Regions from separate parts of the Homo sapiens genome. Here regions 1, 2, 4 and 5 are each linked to region 3. The links are contacts of gene promoters, found by promoter capture Hi-C in blood cells and fetal thymus (Javierre and others, 2016). All regions are on one chromosome and are shown on one strand. Each heading gives the region's core, a stretch centred on a gene start or on the middle of the fragment in contact. The rest is flanking DNA. Distances are from core to core; before and after follow the strand shown.

Evidence for each region. Contacts are between HindIII fragments. The CHiCAGO score rates a contact against its expected background, and 5 or more counts as called.
Region 1: a contact is called between a fragment that was not itself captured here and the fragment with the promoter of ZNF266 in region 3, in 1 of 17 cell types (fetal thymus). The highest score is 5.8, in fetal thymus.
Region 2: a fragment that was not itself captured here is called in contact with the fragment with the promoter of ZNF266 in region 3 in 1 of 17 cell types (megakaryocytes); the score reaches 5.0 in megakaryocytes.
Region 4: a contact is called between a fragment that was not itself captured here and the fragment with the promoter of ZNF266 in region 3, in 2 of 17 cell types (non-activated CD4 T cells and activated CD4 T cells). The highest score is 5.2, in non-activated CD4 T cells.
Region 5: a contact is called between the fragment with the promoter of OR7D2 here and the fragment with the promoter of ZNF266 in region 3, in 4 of 17 cell types (naive CD8 T cells, neutrophils, activated CD4 T cells and 1 more). The highest score is 6.7, in naive CD8 T cells.

What each region holds. Positions count from the first base shown.
Region 1 is chr19:9,804,599-9,807,298 of GRCh38, reverse strand. No RefSeq gene overlaps it. Among named protein-coding and RNA genes, the nearest start is that of FBXL12, 13 kb to the left of the region's middle. The HindIII fragment of the contact is 2,919 bases long and covers 1-2,700 here.
Region 2 is chr19:9,130,305-9,133,004 of GRCh38, reverse strand. No RefSeq gene overlaps it. Among named protein-coding and RNA genes, the nearest start is that of OR7G3, 4.7 kb to the right of the region's middle. The HindIII fragment of the contact is 4,665 bases long and covers 1-2,700 here.
Region 3 is chr19:9,434,178-9,436,877 of GRCh38, reverse strand. ZNF266 (zinc finger protein 266) reads left to right here and starts at 1,305. Exons shown (of 11, transcript NM_001370374.1): 1 at 1,305-1,594; 2 at 1,685-1,770; 3 at 2,019-2,080; 4 at 2,643-2,700. LOC105372269 (a long non-coding RNA gene) reads right to left here and starts at 1,237. Exons shown (of 3, transcript XR_007067133.1): 1 at 1,106-1,237. RefSeq lists an enhancer at 1,385-1,514. The HindIII fragment of the contact is 21,418 bases long and covers 1,001-2,700 here.
Region 4 is chr19:9,148,251-9,150,950 of GRCh38, reverse strand. The region is part of intron 1 of ZNF317 (zinc finger protein 317); the gene reads right to left. Among named protein-coding and RNA genes, the nearest start is that of ZNF317, 9.2 kb to the right of the region's middle. The HindIII fragment of the contact is 2,994 bases long and covers 1-2,700 here.
Region 5 is chr19:9,177,694-9,180,449 of GRCh38, reverse strand. OR7D2 (olfactory receptor family 7 subfamily D member 2) reads right to left here and starts at 1,471. Exons shown (of 3, transcript NM_175883.4): 1 at 1,327-1,471. The HindIII fragment of the contact is 28,883 bases long and covers 1-2,756 here.

The DNA of each region.
Region 1 (2,700 bases), core at 58-2,557, 370 kb before region 3:
CTCCAAGGTTTATGCTGCAGCCTGCCTCAGCCTCCTGAGTACCTGGGATTACAGGCACATGCCACCACACCCAGCCAATTTTTATATTTTTAGGAGATGGGGTTTCACCATGTTGGCCAGGCTGGTCTCAAACTCCTGGCCTTAAGTGATCCGCCTGCTTTAGCGTCCCAAAGTGCTGGGATTACAGGTGTGAGCCGCTGCAACTGGCCAGCAGGCATTAATTTTGAAGCAGGTAAGTGTTTACAGGCAGTGCTAGCAGGTGGGGGAAGAAGGCCCTGATCTGTAGCATTTGCAGATTACTATGGTGTAAACACTGTCTCACCACAGCTGGTTTCAAGCTACCAACAGTTTAACAACTGGCTCACAAAATAGTTGAAGATTCAGCATTTGGCTCTCCTGAGCTGTGGCATACCACTGGTTACAGGTGTCTTCTTCCTGGGCTTACCCTATGGAGAATTCATTCTGCCTTAGTGACCTCTAACATGGGCCTTGCCCCAAGGGGTGATGGGGTGATGGGACATCAGACAGAGCTTCTCCCCTTTTGGAACCTCCCCACCCCTAATCATTGCCTTCTCCCAGATAAGGGGCTGGGGGCTTCAGGACTGCCCTCCAATGAAGGCAAAGCATAATCACAATAGCTGACATTATTATTTTATTTTTATTTATTTATTTTGAGACATGGTCTTACTCCATCACCCAAGCTGGAGTGCAGTGGTGTGACTGTAGCTCACTGCAGCCTCGAACTCCTGGGTTCAAGCAATCTTCCCACCTCATCCTCCCCAGCAGCTGGGAATACAGGCATGCACCACCACACCTGGCTAATTTTTAAAAAGAATTATTATTATTATTATTTTGTAAAGACGTGGTCTCACTGTGTTGCCCAGGTTGGTCTCAAACTGCTTGGCTCAAGCGATCCTCCTGCCTCAGCCTCCCGAAGTGGTGAGATTACAGGCGTGAGCCACCACACCCAGCCTACTGAGTGCTTCTTATGTGGCAGGCACTGTGCTCAGTCCTTCATGCATGGACTCCTATAAGCAGCCCACTGAGGGAGGTAGAGATGAAGACACTGAGGCACAGAGAAGTTAAGTTGCCCAAAGCAACATAGCTGGTAAAGTAGAACCTGAGTAATTTTACTCCACAATCTTGCCCAGGATATAAAGCTGCCATGCTGCCATGCAATAGTATCTGAAGGGAGGCCCAGTAACTGGGCCCTATTAGGGGCTGTGAAGGCAATCATGACTCCATCTTGGATGCCAACTGCCATCTTGACTTCTGCTTAACCCAAGTCCTGAGAACAACTCCAACATTTCTAGATTTTTTTTTTTTTTTGAGACGGAGTTTTTGTTTTTGTAGCCCAGGTTGGAGTGCAATGGTGCAATCTTAGCTCACTGCAACCTCTGCCCCCAAGGTTCAAGAGATTCCTGCCACAGCCTTCTGAGTAGCTGGGATTACAGGTGCCCACCACCATACCCAGCTAATTTTTTGTATTTAATAGAAATGGGGTATCACCATGTTGGTCAGGCTGGTCTCAAACTCCTGACCTCAGGTGATCCACCCACCTTGGCCTCCCAAAGTGCTGGGATTACAGGCATGAGCCACTGTGCCCCACCTACTTTTTTTTTTTTTTTTTTGAGACAGAGTCTTATTCTGTCCCTCAGGCTGGAGTGCACTGGCCCAATCTCGACTCACTGTAACCTCCCTCACCTGGGTTGAAGCAATCCTCCCACCTCAGCCTCCCAAGTAATTGAGACTACAGGTGCACACTACCATGCCTGGTGGTTTTTTGTTTTTTTTTGTTTTTTGTTTTAAGACATAGGGTTTCGTCATGTTGCCCAGGCTGGTCTTGAACTCTTGGGCTCAAGCCATCCGCCCACCTTGGCCTCCCAAAGTGCCGGGATTACAGGCATGAGCCACTGCACCCAGCCAGGATTTCTACTTTATTTACTGTTCTTGTGTAAGAACATATACTCGCCATAGATCCTGCCCTTGGACCAAAGCAGCCTTGATGTTATTGTATAAATTACAGGCTATGACACATATCACATTCTTACCTGTCTGGAGGGTTAACTTGGCCTACACATTCTTTAGGAAAAAAAGAAAAAATTTTTTTTCGAGACAGGGTCTTGCTTTGTTGCCCAGGCCAGAGCGCATCATGGCTCATCTCAGCCTTGACCTCCAGGGCTGTAGTGTTCCTTACCCTCTCAGCCACACAAGTACCTGGGACTATAGGCACATGCCACCATGCCCAGCTAATTTTTCTTTTTTTGTAGAGATGGGGTCTCACCATATTGCCCAGGCTGGTCTCAAAGTTTTGGGCTCAAGCGATCTGCCTGCCACAGCCTCCCAAAGTGCTGGGATTACAGGTGTGAACTACTCACCATGCCCAGCCCCTACAGCTTCACTGAGGTATAATTAACATGTAATAAATTGCACATATGGCCGAGCGCGGTGGCTCACGCCTGTAATCCCAACACTGGGAGGCAGAGGCAGGCGGATCACCTGAGGTCGGGAGTTCGAGACCAGCCTGACCAACATGGAGAAACCCCGTCTCTACTAAAAATACAAAATTAGCCGGACGTGGTGGCACATGTCTGTAATCCCAGCTACTCGGGAGGCTGAGGCAGGAGAATCGCCTGCACCTGGGAGGCGGAGGTTGCGGTGAGCCGAGTTCACACCATTGCACTCCAGCCTGGGCAACAA
Region 2 (2,700 bases), core at 182-2,681, 300 kb after region 3:
AGACCAGCATGGCCAACATGGTGAAACCTCGTCTCTACTGAAAATATAAAAATTTGCCAGGTGTCGTGTGTGCCTGTAATCCTAGCTACTCTACTCAGGAGGCTGAGGCAGGAGAATCGCTTGAACCTGGGAGGCGGAGGTTGCAGTGAGCTGAGATCACGCCACTGCACTCCAGCCAGGGCGCAGAGTGAGACTTGGTTTGAAAAAAAAAAAAAAAAAAAAAAGCAATTTCTGACTCAGAGAAAGCTGGGATTCTGTCTAAGGAGGATTCCACCAGCTCCCTAGGGGTCCGATCCTAGGATCCAAGAATGAGATACCCTCGGGATAAGAGGAAATGTGGTTGGAAGAGAATGACATACAGCTTGTCCCTTGGGGTCAGAAAGTCAACCATCCAGGAATTCCCCCTTTGTGCTCACGTCTGACCTGTGCTCATTAAGGATTTGAGCTGCCTTAGGGGAAGAAATGACAGTACTGTACACATCTAGCTAATGAGCAGCTTTGAAAATTGAGCTCCTAGGGGCCACAGAGACTGCAAATAATCTACCGGTGACCACTCCACTCAACAGCCCCGCTCATGTTAGGAAACATCACACCTGAGTCTTGCTCCAGAGATGATCCCTCTTGCCCAAGAGTGGGTTGCCTTACTTGGTTCATCTGCCCTTCTTGGGGATAGATCTTCCATTTCATCTTACAATTCTCCAAGAAAAAAAATGGAGAATTCCTTACTGATGCCTTCAAGGTAATCTGAAATGCTCCCAATAAATGCTGTGAGAAACTGAACAAGTTTTTTATTTTATTTTTTCTCCCATCTTATCTGGAGGACAACCATAAAGTAAGAGACAATTCAGCAGAATTGTTATAAGTGAGATTCCAAACTAATCGGTGACCCTTTTCATGATATATTTACTTCCCCTGTTTTCTTACAATTTATAATCAGATTTCATTATTTTCAGCTCTCATTCTGTCTTCTAAATCCTAGGGACTCCTTCCCTACCTAAGTATGAATTAGTCCCTTCAAAAAGGAATCTGGCCAAGTGCGGTGGCTCACGCATGTAGTCCCAGCACTTTGGGAACCAAGGCGGATCAATCACCTGAGGTCAGGAGTTCAAGACCAGCCTGGCCAACATGGTGAAACCCCATCTCTACTAAAAATACAAAAATTTAGCCGGGCATGGTGGCATGCACCTGTAATCCCAGCTACTCAGGAGGCTGAGGCAGGAGAATCGCTTGAACCCGGGAGGCAGAGGTTGCAGTGAGCTGAGATGGCACCACTGCATTCCAGCCTGGTGACAGAGCAAGACTCTGTCTCATAAAACAAACAAATAAACAAAAGGAATCTACAGTTCTCTGGTTTTCCACATTCTTTTTTTTATTTTTTGAGAAGGAGTCTCGCTCTGTCACCAGGCTGGAGTGCAGTGGCTCCATCTCAGTTCACTGCAACCTCCGCCTCCTGGGTTCCAGCGATTCTCCTGCCTCAGCCTTTTGAGTAGCTGGGATTACAGGCGCCCACCACCATGCCTGGCTAACTTTTGTATTTTTAGTAGAGATGGGGTTTCACCAAGTTGGCCAGGATGGTCTTGATCTCTTGACCTCGTGATCCGCCCACTTTGGCCTCCCAAAGTGCTGGAATTACAGACATGAGCCACCATGCCTGGCCCCATGGTTTTCCTCATTCTTTTGACTGCAGATGGGGCTTTGATGAGATGTGTCTGGCTTTTCAATCTTCACCATGTCTGTTGCCAGATTTCACCCTTAAATAACTTGACTCTTGTCCCCATCTCTTGACAGTGAGAAACTCCAGAAGAGGAAGTTGAGACCCACTCACTTACATTTCCAGTCTTTCGGTTTCTCTTTTAAAACCCCAAAACAGGCCAGATGTGGTGGTTCATGCCTGTAATCCTAGCACTTTGGGCTTACAGGCATGGGCAACATAGCAACATAGCCTGGGCAACATAGCAAGAGCTCATCTCTGCAAAAAAAAAAAATTTTTTTTAATTTTAAAAATAGATTTAAAATACTAAATATAATAATAATAACAATAAAGTATAACACTTAAACATGAAGTCCTCTTGATTTGTTTTTATTCCTCTCCTTCCCTTCCTGGGGACCACCACTCTCTGAAATTGGTGGGCATTCACTATGCTTAGTTTAACACTATTATTACATGTAATAATAGTGCCATAATTTGTGTATCTATCCCCATACTGATGTTTGTTTAGCTTCTTTCTTTCTTACTTTATTTTGAGACAGGATCTCACTCTGTCACCCAGACTGGAGTACAGTGGCTCAATCACGGCTCACAACAACCTCGACCTCCTGAGCTCAGGTGATCCTCCTACCTCAGCCTCCTGAGTAGCTAGGACTATAGGTGCATGCCACCATGCCTGACTAGTTTTTGTATTTTTTGTAGAGATGGGGTTTCACCATGTTGCCCAGGCTGGTCTCTAACTCCTGGGCTGAAGTGATCTGCCTGCCTCTACCTCCCAAAATGCTAGGATTACAGGCGCGAGCCACTGCGCCTGGCTTTTTCTTTTTTCTTTTTCTTTTCTCTGAGACAGCATCTTGCTCTGTCACCCAGGCTAGATAGAGTACAGACACACAACCCAGGCTGGTCTCAAACTCCTGGGCTCAAGTGATCCTCCCACCTCGGCCTTCCAAAGTGCTGGGATTACAGGCTTGAGCCACTGTGTCAAGCCCAGT
Region 3 (2,700 bases), core at 56-2,555:
TAATTGGCCGTGTTTCTGGAGGAAAGAGATATTGTATCCACTATCCCACACCACATACTGAAACACATTCCATGAGTATGAAAGATTTCAATGTTTTTAAAGTAATATGCTGCAGAAGAAAATTAGGAAATCTATATGTAATCTAGAGTTTATGAAGACTTCTTAATGCAAGAGAGGAAACTTAAAAAAGAAAATCTTTTTGAGTTGAAAAATTAACTGCAAAATAGTTACCAGTTCAGTAGATTCACAAAATATTTGATAATGTACATGAACAGTTCTTCATGTTAGTAAAACAGTGTTCAAAATAACTTTATTAACTCCATAAAGGCCACCCACTACAAAGCACAGCAAAAACGATTTCTGGAGAAACTAGAATCACTCCTGCAGAAGTGAATGCCTGATATCAGTGCTATTTTACAACGCGGTATTTTACAACGAGGCCCTGGAACTCACTGTAAGATCTCAGAAAACAATATATTAGTCAAAGAAAAAAAAATCAACATTTACAAAAAGTATCAGCATATTGAATACACAAAGGAATCAACTATTAGAATTTAGCATGGCGTCCAGATAAATGAAATAAGGGGAAATATTGGCCTCAAGTTGAATTGGGCCCGGCGCCGTGGTGCACGCCTGTAATCCCAGCCTTTTGGGAGGCTGAGGCGGGATGATTGTTGGAGCCCAGGAGTTTGAGATCAGCCTGGGTAACATACCTCAACTCTGGGGGAAAAAAAATTAGCCGGGCATGGTGGCCTGCGCCTGTAGACCCAGCTACTCGGGAGGCTGAGGCGGGATGATGGCGTGAGCCCATGAGTTTCGCCCCACAGCACGCCAGCCTGGACTACACAGTGAGACCCTGTCTCAAACAAAAACAAAATAAAAAACTAAAACTAGATTGAATGAATGGAGGAGATAGGCCATATCATGGACTGGCAGGATTATCAAAGGAAGCATCATTTTGAGGGTGCTAGGAACGTGGGAGGAGGTGAGAATAAAAGCTTTTTGTGAGCATTGTGCACATCCTGTGGGGGAGCCCCCACCTCTAACTTTGCCAACACCACCGACCCCACCCTAGGTTAGCCCCGTCCGCAGGGCTGGTTCTAACCTCAGCCTTGTGCTCTGGGCCCCTTTTGGCCTCCATCCCTCAAGGTGAGCAGACTCCAAGGCCTCCAAGGCGTCTCCGTAGCCACTGGGGAGTAAACCAGAATCTCTCTGCCTGAGGTTGTTCAGCTCGGCTGAGGTTGCAGTTCCCGAGCGCTCCTCCAGGTTTGAGGCTGGAGGCGGAAGTGACGTCACGGAGCGCTGCTGTGTTTTCCGGCGCTTTCTCCGCGCCGCCAAACCCGTTTTCTTCCTGGTGGCGTTTGGGCTTAATACAGCTTTGGCGAGGTCGGATGACGGGTGGGAGCCAGCGGTGGAAGGGGTGGCGAAAGTACCGGTTTGCCCCAGGCCGCCGAGGGGCCTCCTTAGAGAGACCTTGCCTGCTCCGCTCGCGTCCGCCGGGGCCGCGCGGGTCCTCCTGGCGCCGCCAGGTTCAAAAAGCCACTCGAGTTGTCACTGCGACGGCCCTGGGCCAGGAGCCGTTTCGGGATCTGTCGTAAGGGCGCTTCCTCACGATTTTTGCAAACACGGTGATTGCCGCTTCAAACTCTTCCAAAGCAATTCTTTGTGACTTTTTTTTTTCCAGAAACAACGAGTTTTCGTCGTTCGAATCAGGTTGACTGGTCCTTCATCCCCCCAATCTCCCGTACCTGGCGAGTCCAGCTCGTCGCGGTGAGTACTGGGGTGAAAGTTGGTTTCGGGGGCTTCTTCCTCCTGTTTTATCTGAGAATTTGTTTTTCTCTTTGCGCATCCTGTATTTACTTTTGACACTCTACATTCAGGTAGAAACATAAAGCTATTTTTTAGGTATCTGGGGTGTGGTTATTTCTCTATGTGAATATAAACGTTTGTAGACCAGAAGTCTTTCTACTGAAGAAAAGCAAGAATACTCAGCTATTCTTTTTATCTGAACTTCCTAGGCCTGTACCTCCCCACAGAGCTTCAAAACGGGCTTTTAGGAAGAAGGAATGGAGGCTTTGAAGTAAGTTGAACATTGCAGGCGTGACACTTAAGGTTTAAATGCTTGGTAATACGTGTCCTGTGGATAAAGACATGTCCTTTTAAAACCATAATACTATTACCCCAGAAAATTTAAAATGTTGTTAATATGTACCCTGTGTAAAAAGGTACAGTTCTCCACTTTGTTCCAATATATGGTTTTGATTGTTTTGGGATCTATTACGTATCCAAGTTTCATGTCTTTTAGTCTCTTTAAAACTAGCAGACACTGTTTATCCGTTATATTGTCTTTTTGCGCAGTCACTCGTTCTTTCAGAAAGTTATACATTTTGGTAGTTCTGATTGTATTCTGTGCCGTGTTTAAATGTATCCTTCATTTATTGGTGTATCCTGTAAATGGATGAGTGTCTGAATGGTTAATTAAGGCATAGTAAAAAAATTCAGCCTAGGGCTGTTCTTAGGGAGGTTGTAAACTAGTGGAGGAGGCTGTCATGTAACCAAGCAAATAAGTGTATTACAAATTGATGAAGGTCTGTAAGTAAAGTAGAGGACAGAATTATTTTCTCTATTTTTCTTTGGAATAGGCAATGCTAAGAAAAGAGTGATATGCAAGCTGAGACCAAAAATATGGTATGATTTAGC
Region 4 (2,700 bases), core at 109-2,608, 290 kb after region 3:
GAATTATTCTCAAGTACCCAGAGAATAAGGCACCAAGGGTCCGAGACACTTGGTCAAGGTCATAGGTGGAAGTTGTGAGCCCAGCTGACGTGACTGCGGAGCCACATCTTGTTGCCTCTCAAAGTGACCTATGTCACCTGTACTGTCCCCTATGTGGGAACTCCTTGACACTACATCTTGACCCTTCCTTTGCCTGACCTCCTGACACATCATCTTGCTCACTATGAATCTATCTCCCTCTTCCTGGGAATGCCACTGCTCTTGCAGCCATAGCCCACTCATCCCAGTCTGTGCTCACATCTCTGGTTGCTCTTTTGAAGACTCTGGCTTGAGATCCCTCCTCTGCCCAGCCCCTAAAGGTCAGGGTTCCCCTGGGCCCCTCTCCCCCATCTCCCACAGGTCCACATTGTGAAACACCCCCACCATTTGGAGGTGCTGACACCCAGGTTCTGATTGCACTTCTGTGAAGGTCTCCCTGTCCCTGAGGCCTCAGTAGACTCCCCTTTAATGCAAGCCCACAGTTCTGCTCATTCCCCTCCCAAGAGTCAGTTCATCAAAACTCAGTTTTCTCATCTGGAAACTGAAGACTTTAACACTGGGTTATGTATGGAACTCTATAGGCTCAGTAAACAAACATTCACTCTAAAATGCCATTATCATTAAAATAAAATGACCACTGACGATTTCACAATTACTTAACAGAATTGTTCATTTATAGTGGGTGCCACTCTCCGCTCCCTGGCACCTGCCCCACCCAGAATGACTCAGAGTGAGTGGCAGCCAGGTGGCTACTTAGTATCCCTACTGCAACAGCCAACAGGATCCCACATTAAACACCTACAACTGTGCTGCCACCAGCCTCCCCACGTTGATGGCAGCTCCAGCCTCCCAGGGGCTCAAGTCAAAAGCCTTGCTCGTCATCACCTTCAACTCTCCTCTTTCTTTTCCATAAACCACACCTGCATCACCAGCAAATCCTGCCAGCCTTAACTTTAAAACTTAATACAAAAATCTGGTTGCTTCTCACCACCTACACTGCTACTGCCTTGGCATAAGGCATCGCTTCTCTTCTAGAACATTCCAACTGCTTCCTAACTGGTCTCCCAGCTGCTGTCCCTGACTTCCCTTAGCTTCCATGACAGCCGTAACTTTATGGGTAAAATGAAGATCACACCGCTCCTCTGTTCAAGATCCTCTGATGGTGTCCCATCTCACTCAGACCAAGGGCCCAGGTCCCTGCCGCCTCACCCACAACTCGCTCTGCCACTGGTCCCTCACCCAAGCCACAGAAGCCTCACTGCTGTGCATCAGGCCCCGCCAGCCATGCTCCCACCTCAGGGTCTGTGCACCTGCTGCTCCTCTGCTTGAAATGTTTCCCCCACATTCTCAGTGTGCCTGGCCCCCTCTCATCCTTCAGATCTTTATTCAACTTTACCTGTCCTGATCTGGCATTCACTGGCCACTCTTTTCTTTTCTTTTGAGATGGAGTCTCGCTCTGTCACCCAGGCTGGAGTGCAGTAGTGTGATCTCAGCTCACTGCAACCTGCGCCTCCCGGGTTCAAGTGATTCTCCCGCCTCAGGCTCCCAAGTAGCTGGGACTATAGGTGTGCCACTGTGTCCGGCTAATTTTTGTACTTTTAGTAGAGACAGGGTTTCACCATGTTGGCCAGGCTGGTCCTGAGCTCCTGACCTCAGCTGATCCACCCGCCTTGGCCACTTTTTAAAATGCAAACCCCTGCTTCTTTCAATCCCAATTCTCCACTCCTTTTCTTTTTCCCTAAAGCACTAATTTCCAAGTAATGTTCTGTGTAAGATTAGGCTCTATTTTTTACTGCAAAAACAGACAAACCCAAATCTCAATGACTCAATAAAATGGAAAGTTTACGCCTTGCTCATGTCACTTGTTCAACCCAGGCTGATGTCAAAAGTTTTCCTGTTGTTCAAGGATGCCACTTGTCTCTGAACCAACTGATACCCTTGGCCATGTTGGTCATAGATGATGAGCAGGAAGCTGGACAACTATGCATTCTGTCGTCTATATTTTGACCCTGAAGCACTTGCAGCCCATTGGCCAGAACTAGTCACATGCCCCTGCCAGCTCCAAGGATCCTGGGAAATGTAGGACAGGACACAGAACACCGGGTAAGCATTATTATCTCTCTGCTGTCTCCTCCATGCACACTATGTAGTTTACTTGTTTTGATTTCCTGTATGCCCAACTAGAAAATACATTCCAGGTGAGTAGAGACTTTTTACTTTGATGATATTTCATTCACCATTCCAGTGCCTGATATAAATAAGACAATAAGTAGGGAATGAAAGAATGAATGGATGATGAGCAAGCTGATCTACATTTGCCTTCATACTGAGACAGCCACCCAGACCTTGGGAGACCATAAAGGAGGGGCCTATGGAATGTAGGGGGTCTGGGATCTCCTCAGAAGGTCCTGTGAAATTAAACAGTAATCCAGGTACTAGGACACAGCCCTATGGCTTAGCCCAACACCCTGGGGCCAACATCCACCACCACCCTCCATGAAGGACAAAGTGTCCAGAGGGCTGGAGCTTAGAGAGCGCACCCACATCAATTCAGTCTGTGGAACCTTGTCGATGTTTTGCAACGATGCAAACCAGAGCTCAGAGTGGAGCTTCTGGCCAAGTTCTCACCTGAGTGATTCTATCACTTTCAGGGGTTGTCAG
Region 5 (2,756 bases), core at 222-2,721, 260 kb after region 3:
ACATAAGCTAAAATTCATTTAATAAAATGTAACAGCCTGGCTGGGTGCTGTGACTCCTGCCTGTAATCCCAGCACTTTGAGAGGCTAAGGCAGGAGAAATTCTTGAGGCCAGGAGTTTGAGACCAGCCTAGACAACAAAATGAGACACTTGCCTCTACAAAAATAGATTTTTAAAAAATTAGCTACTTGGGAGGCCAAGGCAGGAGGTTTGCTTGAGCCCAGAAAGACCCTGTCTCAAAAAAAAAAAAAGTCAACTTAAACACAATTAATTACAACTAATCAGTGTCATCAGCTTTCTTATGTATCTGCAAACAGCCATGAGAAAAAATAAGAGGAAAAAAAGTCCATTCACAATTGCAATGATAATATATGTAACATCTGGTGCAGAGTGAACATTTAATACATACTTGTTTTGTTTTGCTTTGCTTTGTTGATTTTTTTTTTTTTAGACGGAGTTTTGTTCTTGTTGCCCAGGCTGAAGTGCAATGGTGCAATCTCAGCTCACTGCAACCTCTGCCTCCCAGGTTCAAGAAATTCCCCTGCCTCAGCCTCCCAAATGGCTGGGACTACAGGCACACACCACCATGCCCGGCTAATTTTGTATTTTTAGTAGAGACAGGGTTTCACCATGTTGGCCAGGATGGTCTCGATCTCTTGACCTTGTGATCCACCCGCCTCGGCCTCCTAAAGTTCTGGGATTATAGGCATGAGCCACTGCACCCGGCCGAGAACTATTATATTATACTAGAGAAGAAAAAGGAAGGTGTTAGCAGGTAGACTGAAAGGAATCCACTCAAGGAAGTGCCAGTTCCTACTGACATTGAGAAAGTCACTAGTTTCCAGAATGAAAGGCCATCAGAGGTGGAGGTGACAGAAACAGTTGCAATAGAATCTTTTTTTTTTTTTGAGACAGCGTCTCACTCACTCTGTCACCCAGGCTGGAGTGCAGTGGCGTGATCTTGGCTCATGGCAACCTCTGTCTCCCGGGTTCAAGCCATTCTCCTGACTCAGGCTCCCGAGTAGCTGGGATTACAGGCATCCGCCACCATGCCCAGCTAATTTTTGTATTTTTAGATGAGATGGGGTTTCACCAAGTTGGCCAGGCTTGTCTTAGACTCCTGGCCTCAAGCGATCCGCCTGCCTCAGCCTCCCAAAAGTTGCAATGCCTTAAGACATCTATAACCAGGTAAGGGAATCCTAGAGACATTTTAAAAATCATGAGACATTATCAACCCTGTTACCTCCATCTCTGTTCCTCCCCACACTACTTTTTAAATCCTTTTCACACACGGTACTAACAAGGATAGTGTGAGTCACTCAACTGACATTGCTTGAAAAAAAAAAATGCTGGTATGACGTCTTCCTCCCCTGACTGTTGAATGCTGAAGACAGAATCTAGCAGGGAAAGGCGGGGAGATGGAACTTGTCATGAAGTCATCCTAACTCTCCTCTCTAAGATGCATGAGTGTGGCGTCAGGAAACTGTCCAGGTGAGGTGTTTTAGGGAAGTATTTATGGTTTCTCAAGCCCCAGGGAGCTGATGTCTCATCCTTCCTCATTAAATCCACTGTTCCAGTGATGTTCTACTCTCCAACCCATTCGGCTCCCTTGGGATCAAGAGCAAATGGCAGAAAGGTATGATGTGTTCTAATTCTGTTTCCAAGAAGGCAGCTCTGAAGCCAGGTGACTCTCTCTGCACCTCCCACCCTCTTGGGGCCTCTTTATTCTTGGAAGAGCTTTCATCACTATTGGTTTGGCTTTGAGATAAAGAGGTTTTCCCCTCTGGAATGTGTCGCAGAAGCTACAAAGACCCATCTCTCTGTAATCCCAGTGCCTAAGGGTCTCAAGGTAACACAGAAGAAAATAGAGATGCAACTATTTCCGTGAATCCCCTGTGATCGCGTTGGCTGCAGGGCGTTAAACAGGCTGTGGACATGTCGTAAGTCCTGTTTCAAGAGAGGGAGAGTCAACCATTGCGAGATACAGCAAGATTTCTCTTCAAACAGCCTGCTCAGCTTCTTATTCTCTAATTCCAAGTACCCCCCCCACACACTTTCTTCTCCTTTTCTTCTTTCTGATTTTGCTGCATGCCCAGATATGCCATAGCCCCAGCTCACATTTCTTTCCTTATTTAAGAATAGACTAGCTGTCTATTCCTCTGTAGAAGACCCCTTCCTCCTCTCCTCTGTCTCCCATCACACACCCACCTTATCTAAGACAGTTTAAATGTGTAACCAATCAAGTCTAGTTTAGATTGTGCTGTCCGACCCCAGCCAATGGGGAAAGGACACACAAAGTCAAGAGTCGCATTAAGAATAAAAGTTGCTACTCTCCTTTGTTCAGGGTGCTCTTGTAGCAGCCAACCCTACGAGAAGCACCCTTCTGCGCAGAAGTAAATTTGCTTTGCTGAGAAATCCTTTGTTTGAGTGCTCATTTTTCTTTATGACTCCAAGATTTATTTCTAACAACCATGTAAAACGATGCTATAAGGCTAAGCAAAATAAAGGCTGAAGAATATCCATCACATTTAATGGCATGGAAAACATTAGAAACAGCGATCTGGGTAGAGTGATGGGGAAAATTTCATTGATGGCAAGTTTGGGAGGAACTGAACAATAAGAAAAAAGTTTTTTTCAATTTTTAAAATGATGGTAAAATATACATAACATACAGTTCACCATCTTAACCATTTTAAGTGTACTATTCAGTGGCATTAAGTATATTCACAGCAGCCATCACTATCCTCCATATTCAGAA